Linked DNA regions of Homo sapiens: region 1 is linked to region 2. Evidence: promoter capture Hi-C in human tissues and cell types (Jung and others, 2019). All regions are on one chromosome and are shown on one strand. The core of a region is centred on a gene start or on the middle of the fragment in contact, and the rest is flanking DNA. Distances in the headings are between cores, read along the strand shown.

Region 1 (4,810 bases), core at 1,856-4,355, 500 kb before region 2:
GTCTCCACTCCTCAGTGCAGTAAGAAAAGAGCATGAAAAAGTGCACATGGGAGTTTTTTATGGGCTCTGCCTAGAAGTGGTGCGTGTTACTTCTACTCACATTCCATTGGCTAAAACTCCATCACATGACCACAGCTAACCACAGAGGAGTCTGGGAAATGTAGTCCTTGGTGGAGCAGCCACTTAGCAGTGACAGCTCTGGAGGGGTTTCTGAAGAAGAGGTAGTTCTCTCTGGCACAGCACATAAAAGAAACTTGGAGATACTCAAGGATAAAGTTGCATAGAAACAGTGGGAGAAGTAAACAATTATCCACATTTAGGTTTTCCTGACTGACACTCTTAGGTAACATCTGGCCATGAGGGCAAGATGCAATGGATGAGATTTCTCAACACCTCTGTCCATTATGACCCTAAGCATCATGTTGCCCATGGCCAGTGAACCATGAAGGACATTTTCCTTATTTCCTTTTACTTATTTTTCCTCTCAGGATCCTCTTGGTCTAGGACTATACTGGCTTTCTCTTCTTCCTGGATCTAGTCATATTAGTTGGAATTGTGACAGAATTCTGCTCCCCCAACTATGAGCCCCAGTGGTCTATAGGAAAGCTCTTGACTTCCTTAGCTCGTAGTTTTCTCTGCTACTGGAGGCTTTGGAAATGTATCCTACAGGATCTGCTCCAGGTCTTGGGACATTTGATCAGGGTGAAAATTCCCGAAGGTTAGACCTTTAAACCAAGTTATTAAACTGTTTTTTCTTTTCTTTTCTTTCTTTCTTTTTTTTTTTTTTTTTTTTTTTTTTGAGGCAGAGTCTCACTCTGTTGCCAGGCTGGAGTGCATCGGCATGATCTCAGTTCACTGCAACCTCTGCCTCCCAGGTTCAAGTGATTCTACTGCCTCAGCCTCCTGAGTAGCTGGGACTGCAGGCACGCACCACCACACCCAGCTAATTTTTGTATTTTTAGTAGAGATGGGGTTTCACCATGTTGGCCAGGATGGTCTCCATCTCTTGACCTCGTGATCTGCCGGCCTTGGCCTGCCAAAGTGCTGAGATTACAGACATGAGCCATAGCGCCCAGCCGAGAAACTTTTTTTTTCTTTGAGACAGGGTTTCACTCTGTCACCCAGGCTGGAGTGCAGTGGCACGATCATGGCTCACTGCAGCCTCAACTTCTCAGGCTCAAGCGATCCTCCCAAGTAGCTGAGACTACAGGCATGTGTCACCATGCCTGGCTAATTTTTGTATTTTTTGTAGAAACAAGGTTTCACCATGTTGCCCAGGCTGGTCTTGAACTCCTGGGCTCAAGCAATCCACCACCCACCTTGGCCTCCCAAAGTGCTAGGATAACAGGCATGAGCCACCGGGCCCAGCCGAGAAACATTTAAAAGTAGACTAAAAAGTCTCAGGCTGGGGCTATTAATGCTACCCCAAAAGATGTGATATATATGTCTAGCTTTTTATTTTCAGGAAAAGTTTCAAAACATTTACTGAAATAATAAGTGGTAAAGTTGTAAGCTCTGTTTGGAGAACTTTTAATAAGTTTAACATTTTATGTAACCTTCTAACCATTGTTGATGTTGGTGAAGTATTCCCCTCATTCGTAAATATAAACCATATGATGGGTGCCTTGTGATGCCCCAGACTTAAAGGTGTGAAATAAAAATGAACTCAAGTCTTTGCCTGAGGTGCCTGGTACCTAGTTCTCTAGTTTTGTCAATATCTGACTAAACACTCTGGTTTCTGATTGACTTTTGCCCCTGGACTTGACCTTTCTGGCACCCACATCCACACCCTGAAGAGCATGTATTGTCTGTTGTGTGGGGATACCTGTTACTGGCCAATTTGCCACAGCTTCTCAGATATCTGACAGAGGCTGATGCCTGGCCTACTCTCCTGTTATGGCTGCCTAGCCTCTGCCCAGTCCCCTTACATTAGGATGGAGCTGAGGAGGAATGGAATAGAATAACAAGATGAGTTGCTGCAAAAATACTTCAGCCTCTGAAAGTCTGTCTTTCCAAGTTGTTAGGAACTGAAAGTGTCTATTGATCGGGGAGCTGGCTGGGCTAGTGGTATAAGCTAATGATAAGACCAGGTTGGGCTGGGCATGGTGGCTCATGCCTATAATCCCTGCACTTTGGGAGGCCGAGGCAGGTGGATCACTTGAGGTCAGGAGTTCAAGACCAGCCTGACCAACATGGTGAAACCCCATCTCTACTAAAAAAAAATACAAAATTAGCCGAGCAGGGTGGCGCACACCTATAATCCCAGCTACTTGGGAGGCTGAGGCAGGGGAATTGCTTGAACCTGGGAGGCAGAGGTTGCAGTGAACCGAGATCACACCACAGGACTCCGGCCTGGGCAACAAGAGAGAAACTCCATCTCCAAAAAAAAAAAAAAAGACCAGGTGAATGGGGAATACAGTGCCTGCTAGAAGGGTGCAGTTGAAGGAATAAGTTAAGAATATGTGCCAGATTTCAAAAGCTGGAGCCAAATGGGGATGATGTGTTGCTGGAAGTCCTAGCCTAACAGAGTCTTTCAGGAAGGGCAGAGCCAAAGGTCTCAGTCAACATCAGGGTCCATTCATGTGGGAGAATGGCTAATCACAGCTTGCTAATTTCAACTACCATCTGTTATGACTCCTCAAAGCACTAAGTATGCAGTAGTTGACATATGAATGGTGTTAGGGTTGGGGGAGGGGGCCAGCCTCCTGATTTCTAATTTCTAGCTGCATATTACTACAGGAAGGGGAGTAAGACCACCACATCAGGTACCAGAATTTCACTACTGTCAACACTTTGTGTTTGAAAGAAAGCCATAGATCCCTGTGACCACTGGATGCTGAGTGACCTCACAGACAACATCAGCAAAGCAGGATTGTGTACAAACACACATTTTGTAAATATTTTGATATTTGACATTTCAAAAAAAGCATCAAAGGAGACAGCCTGGGAAAAGTTAGACTTTGTTGAGCTTTCTCAACCTTAATTTTGTATTTTGTTATTTTTTTCTATTTTAATTTCACATGGGAGTAATAATTCAAATTTGAGGCACTATAGTCTTTTCAGAGCTTAGGTCATCTAAAGATCTGAGCCTGGCCTTGTTGAGCCATGATGAGCAGATGTGGACTGAGCACACAGTCTCACACAGGCAGCTCTTACACTAGTTGAGTATTTTAATCCCTGAGGTTTTAGAATTGTCATAGCACAGGTGTGCAAGCTCCTTTCTCCCCATGGGTCAGCATCATGAATGTTCTGTCACTCTCCTTAGAGAGTTTTGCAGAAATACCACATCATATTCACCAAAACTAAGAATTCATAGTAATAGGGCTTTATAATTTCTCACACTGAAATCCCCTAATTTCTTGTCAAGAACCAAGTTGGAAAATACCACACTTCAGGGTTTTGTTTTTAACTCAAGAAGCTTCTGGTTTTCATCAGAACTTTAAAGCTCCCTCCTACCTCCAAAATAGTATTGTTAGAAAATGTAATGCTGAGACTCTGTCAGAATAAGTAGGTGATATATGCAAAATGATATGGGCAACTTAGAAAAGTGCATGTCAAGGTAAACTGCTGATAAAGGCCGGGAGTGGTGGCTCACACCGGAAATCCCAGCACTTTGGGAGGCTGAGGTGCGCAGATTGCTTGAGGCCAGGAGTTCAAGACCAGCCCAGCCAAAATCGTGAAGCCCTGCCTCTACTAAAAATACAAAAATTAGCTGGGCTTGGTGGCACATGCCTGTAATCCCAGCTTCTTGGGAGGCTGAGGTATGAGAATTGGTTGAACCCAGGAGGCGGAGGTTGTGGTGAGCCACGACTGGGCCACTGTACTCCAGCCTAGGCAACAGAGGAAAAAAAAAAAAAAGTGTTGATAAAAAATAATCATCATAATTATGGTCAGTATTGGTGCTTTGACTTTTGATATTGTTATTATCATTATTTTAAAGATTTTTTTGTCTTTCTAAATTGACTTTCATCTGGGAGCCTTAGCATCACTTCTAACTAGCCAAAGCATGTTTGATTGTAGGCCAGACTCCCCATGGAGAGGCTTCTGATCTTATTCACAGGGACATTTAACCTGGGGTTCACTGAAACCTTTGAGGAATGATGGATGAGTCATCTCTCTGCCAAAAGAAGATGATTCCTGGCATTCTATGGGGCTCCCAGTGCATTGGGATAAGGAGGCTTGGAAACTCCTCCACGGAGGCATTGACCTTGGGTAGTGCCTTCCAAGCCAGAGTGGAGAGAGTGGACCCCTCATCTTTGTCCAAAAGAGCATTAGTATAACCCCTCACCCCAACCCCACCCCATTCTCTCCTTTTTAAAAAGAGAGAAGAATATATACAAGAAAAAAATTGGAAAAAATACATCAAAATGTTAAAAATTGTTGAGATGGTATTTTATGTGGTGTTTTGCCCCCATTTAACATTATGTTGTAAACATTTTACCAAATCACTAGATGGTCTTTGAAAACATGATTTTTAATGGCTCTATTTCCATTGCACTGATACATTTTAATGTATCAGTTTTTTGTTGTTGGACATTTTGATTCACTTTAGTGTTCTACTATTTTTAAAGTTTCTAATGCATATTGGTGAATTGGCCCCTAGAAAGGTACGAATGTCTATTTCAAAACCTTGGTCTTTTTTAGTTTCTCACATTAAAATGCATGCTGCTAGGCCCCAGTGGTATTGGAAGCTCTGAGGAGGAGCCTGGGGATATGCATTTTAACCTGCCCTCCCAATTCTTCTGCATTAATGCCTGAGAACTATTGACATGCTGCATTCAGTTCAACAAATATTCAGTTGGCAAACATT
Region 2 (5,141 bases), core at 203-2,702:
CATGCCAAACTCTCCAACATGCTTCTACAAATCTTTTGGTGTCATTAGCTCAAAACGTAAATGGATTTTGGTTATTTTCAATGTCATAATTATAAATTTAGCTTTTTTAAGCGTGAAAAAAGCACTTTATAGGAATATATTTTACCACTTTTCCATTTGTGGGAGGTATAATTCATTATTTCTTGCTTTGGTAAGAAAAGTGAGGAAAAAGGAAAATTCATCCATTTGCAGGCTGTTTAAACTTCCAGACAGATTATAATTCATCACTCCAAACAATAAGATGGCTATTACATTTCTCCATAATTTTTATTTGCTAATAAAACGGAGGCAGAGCTTTTTTCTAAAAATAAATAAATAAACAACAACAACAACAACCTCCCCCACCCCGCACCTTCTGTGCAAATTCCTATAAAGTCTTTTATCCTGTCGCTGAGTCTGAGGGCACCCCCCCTCCCGTACTCGTCAGCTCCATCTCGCGGAGGAAAACGCTACCGGCACCCTCAGCTCCGCCCAAGGGCCGCGATCTCTACAGGGGAGATGAAAAGCCGGCGACACTACACAGGCGTGGACCCTCCAACGAGTGTTCCTTTCCTGTGGGTTAAGAGTAGGAGCGTCTGGGCAAAAGCTGGGAGCTTTCAGTTGCCAGGACCCTTGGGAAAGCACGTATTTAGATTTCATTGATAAATTCAACTGAATCCCGAGAAAAATTATACTCCATTCACTGGCATATTTAGAACGGAATTCCCATTGACCCGAGGCTCCCGGTTGAACCCTTCAAGGGAGCCAAGCGAGGACGTTCTCAGAACAGCAGTGCACCGTGTACATTGTGGGAGCCCCGCGCGATCCCCCGCAGAGCGTCCTGTAGGAACGTCACAGAGCCCAGAGAGCGTCCTGTAGGAACGTCACAGAGCCCAGAGAGCGTCCTGTAGGAACGTCACAGAGCCCAGAGAGCGTCCTGTAGGAACGTCACAGAGCCCAGAGAACGCCTGGGGACGGTCGGGGAGGCAGTTCGGGGAGGGGACGATTAAGTTCCCTCAGAGAGGAAGCCGCGGGCCGACTGGAGTCGTTTTCGTGCTCTCCGCACCCGCCCGCCGCGGGTAGCATCTTCTCAGCGCCCCGGCGCCCAGGAACGCCCAGGAAACCCAGTCCTCCTCCTAAGCAACCTGCGGCGCGGGGACGCCCGCCTTTTGCTATTATTATAAACGTGCGTGCGACTAAACCTTCGGATTTTTAGACTTTCTTCTCGCTTCCTCTGACCCAGGCTGAGGGAGCCCCCGAGGCTACTGCGGGGCGGGGCCGGGGCGGGGTGGGGCGCCCTCGCCGCCTCAGGCAGCGCCCCGGCCGCTGGCGGGAGGCGGCAGCGGCGCGGGCCGAGCGGCGCGGGGATTGGCTGCGGCGGGCGGAGACGTCAGGCTCCCGCGGCCCAAGCGGCCGCCCGGCGCGGCGCGGCGCAGTCGGCTCGAGTACTCCCCGTAACGAGGAGGTGTTCTCGGCCGTCCCACCCTTCACTGCCGTCTCCGGGCTGCGCCGCCGGAGCCGGGACGCGCCTCCGCAGCCCTCGCCGCCTCCATCCCCGCGGCCGCAGCTCCTCTCGCCGTCCGCGCGCACACCATGACGAAGAACGAGAAGAAGTCCCTCAACCAGAGCCTGGCCGAGTGGAAGCTCTTCATCTACAACCCGACCACCGGAGAATTCCTGGGGCGCACCGCCAAGAGCTGGGGTGAGCGGGCAGCAGCTGGGCGTCCGGGGCCGGCCTCGGTCCCGGGGGCGCCGGGCGCGGTCTGGTGGGAACGGAAAGGCGGGAGGCGGCTCCCAGCGCCGGGGCTCCCGACCGCCCGACCCTAACCCGGGCGGCGGCGGCGCAGTGCGGCCCCATTCATTGCTCCCCGGGCCGGCCGGACTGGCCGCAGCTCGCTCCCGAAGCAGCGGGGCCCGCGGGCAGCCCGGCCGGGCCGCGCTGGTTCCTCCCTCCCTGCTGGGAGCGGGGCGCACGTGCTGCCCGGGCCTCCCGCCCGGCGCGGCGCCGGAAGCCGGGGACCCCTGCCCGAAGCCGGGCCCCGAGAGTGCAGGAGCCGAGCCCCCGGGCCTCCTTTGTACGGAGCGCTCCGGCCCGAGAGGCCCTGGCGGAGGCGCCCGGCCCGCTGAGCGGTTCGGAGAAGCCAGACCCTGCCCCACTCCAGGGGAGAGGAAATTTCCACTCCCGCCGCTATCTTGTGACTCGTCCACGCTGCCACCCCGACCGGTCGGAAGAGTGCGACTGAGTGTTAAGTGTGGGTGTGGGTTGCTTAAACGTGTAGCGGTGAGTTAATCACAGAAGTACATTGTACAAGAAAATGCACTTGAATTTGGACAGTGAAAAGGCCCTTAAAAAGGTTGGTTCCTCCCGGATTCCTTTTTAATTACAGAGGTTTTCTTCCTTACAAATTTGCTTCTTTGGGGAAAGTAAATCCTGTCTGAACAACACAGGTTTTTTTTTTTTTTCCCGTGTCTTCAAAACAGGAGAGTGATGGTTGTATGTTAGCAGATTTTTTCTATGCGTGAGCTCTTTGTTTTAATATATTTAAACCATCTACCGTGTAGAGTAGCTTTAGGATGCCTTTTTTTCCTAAAATTGTATCAATCTCTGAATGCAGGCTAGAGCTTTTTTTTTTTTTTGCCTTTATACTTAAGTAAACTAATTTTACCTTTTTAAATCCTTTTGAAACATTTTGTTAGTGGGTCTTGAAAGACCATTTCTTTCTGAGTGGGAATAAATCTCGAGAGCTTAGAACTATTTGGGCACAACATTTTTAGGATAAGCATGGAGAAATAAGCTGTGACTCAGAAAATAAACTGTTGGTGCAGACTGAAATGGACTCCTTCAGGGTGAAAAGGCGACTTGAAGTCTTATCACAAGCTGAAAGGGGCCTTGGAGGATTTTTAGCCCAACCCCCACTTTAGAGATGAGAAAAATGAGACCCAGAGAGGTTGTGATTTTTGCCTTGTGTAAAATTACATATGCCACAAAGCCAAGAAAAGAACCCAGTTCTCCTTTAATCCTAGTCCAGCGGTTGTATTATTTTACAGATGCCTTGCCTAACTGCATGGTAATCACTCATGATTTTTATTTAAATTGCTGTTTTCTTTTGGGAACCCACTAGTGTGATGAAGAAATAAATCTTGCATCCAGACTTACATGGGAACAAAAGATGAACATTTATAAAGCTTAATTGCTTGTTTCTAGAGTGTACTAACTTTTTGCTGAAGAAATTTTTGAGTGGTGGAGAGAGATTAATTTTGATAGGCTACCTTCCTCCCTTTCTCCCTTCCCCAGTGCTTCCTCATTTCCAGAACGGAGTAACTCCACTTTGTGTTAGAATGACATTTCTTACTGCAGATAGTGCTCTTCAACCTTTGTATTGTATGACCTAGGGTAGAGATTTTATTTTATTGAGTCAATGCATTTAAATAGATAACATGCACAAATAAATAGAGAGCAATGTGTAAGGACTGTAAAACTAGTACAAGTGAAGTTGGGATTCATTTTGGAAGGATTAAGTCAATCTCTTCAAAATCGATAAGTATTACTCTTATCAGTAAATTTTTTGTTTATTGTAATAATAGTAAGTCAGTGAAGAATGGCATATATAGGTGAAAATTAACCATAATCCTGTCCCAATGTAAGGGTATCCCTCTAAGGATATGTGAGGGAGTCGTGAGAGGAGGCCGAAATCCATATTCAGCTTGCCAGGCTGTGTATCCTAGACCATGGTTGGGTCTGCCTAGAGAAGGGGCACCTTGTTCTAATTCTTGCAAAGGCAGGATCAGTTTGGAGAGCTCTGTGCCTCTGGGGATATGTCTGCCAGGAAGGATTCTTTTTTTAATTCTCTTGAAGGGACTGTATGGGCTTGCTGCCAGATGTCATCATACCTCAGAGATACTATTAACATTCTGGTATATATGTTACTGAATTGTGTATAACATTTTTTTTAAAACAAAAGGATCATAAAGTGTTGTTTTATATTCTGAGTATATTGTGGGCATCTTTCCATGTTACTAAAGATTTTTAGACAGGTTTCCCTATATTCACCCTTTTCATGTACATTTTTGCACATTTATTTCCTTGGTATATATTTATACCGATGGGATTTCTAGGCCATTCATATGTACTTTTTACATTTTGAAAACTTGTTTTCATGTGCTTTCCAGGAAGTTTCTAACAATTTATACTCCCAACGGTATGTAGTGGTGTCTCATACCTTCATCAGCACTGAGGCTATTTTTACCTGTGTTATCTCTTTTAAAACCTTACATTTTTGGGGCCGGGCGCGGTGGCTCACACCTGTAATCCCAGCACTTTGGGAGGCTGAGGTGGGTGGATCACTTGAGGGCAGGAGTTCAAGACCAGCCTGGCCAACATGGTGAAACCCTGTCTCTACTAAAAATGAAAAAAAAAAAAATTAGCCGGGTGTGGTGGCACCTGCCTGTAATCACAGCTACTTGGGAGGCTGAGGCAGGAGAATTGCATGAACCCAGGAGGTGGAGGTTGCAGTGAGCTGAGATCGCACCACTGCACTCCAGCCTGGGCGACAAAGCAAGTCTCCATCTCAAAAAAAAAAACCTTACAGTTTTTGGTAACAGCTTTTTTTTTTTTTTTTTTTTTTTTAAGAAAAACAGCCTTTTGTCATTTTGCAAATTTTTTTTCTAGTTGTCTTTTTGACTTTTTTTAATCAAATTTTATGTAGGTGGTGGGAGAAAAAGATTATGTATTTGTTGTAGGGGGTGGAAGGAAAAAAAATCACATCTTTTTTGACCTTGTAAAGTTGCTAGGACTCCTGGTGTGTCTACCCCCAGGATTTTATCATTCATTTAAGATGTTTCCTGGTTTTATTTTTACACATTTAAGTCTTTAGTATGTTTGTCTCATTTTGATCTAAGGTTCCTCTCCAAGTGCATTGGATACATTAAAAAGCACACATATTTAAAAGGTAGTTTTGCTATTTACATTTTGGATAAAGTGAAAATGTTGCAAGTTACATTGCATTGCCTTATTTAAAACAGCTACGTAAAGATTTTGAGTGGCCGCTTTACTGTGTATTTGGCTAATATCTTACAGGTGGTTACAGCAGTTTCAAAATGCTTATATACACATAAGTTACTTC

What was found. The method cuts DNA at HindIII sites, captures the fragments that hold promoters and counts their contacts. A contact is called where the count stands out against the background at its distance.
Region 1: a fragment that was not itself captured here is called in contact with the fragment with the promoter of ATP1B3 in region 2 in 1 of the 25 tissues and cell types used here (hippocampus).

Annotation. Positions count from the first base shown.
Region 1 is chr3:141,370,273-141,375,082 of GRCh38, forward strand. The region is part of intron 2 of ZBTB38 (zinc finger and BTB domain containing 38); the gene reads left to right. Among named protein-coding and RNA genes, the nearest start is that of ZBTB38, 4.2 kb to the left of the region's middle. RefSeq lists enhancers at 2,636-2,685, 3,742-4,335. The HindIII fragment of the contact is 3,328 bases long and covers 1,442-4,769 here.
Region 2 is chr3:141,875,191-141,880,331 of GRCh38, forward strand. ATP1B3 (ATPase Na+/K+ transporting subunit beta 3) reads left to right here and starts at 1,453. Exons shown (of 7, transcript NM_001679.4): 1 at 1,453-1,720. The coding sequence starts at 1,612. RefSeq lists silencers at 348-407, 1,278-1,407, 1,678-2,247. The HindIII fragment of the contact is 8,321 bases long and covers 1-4,279 here.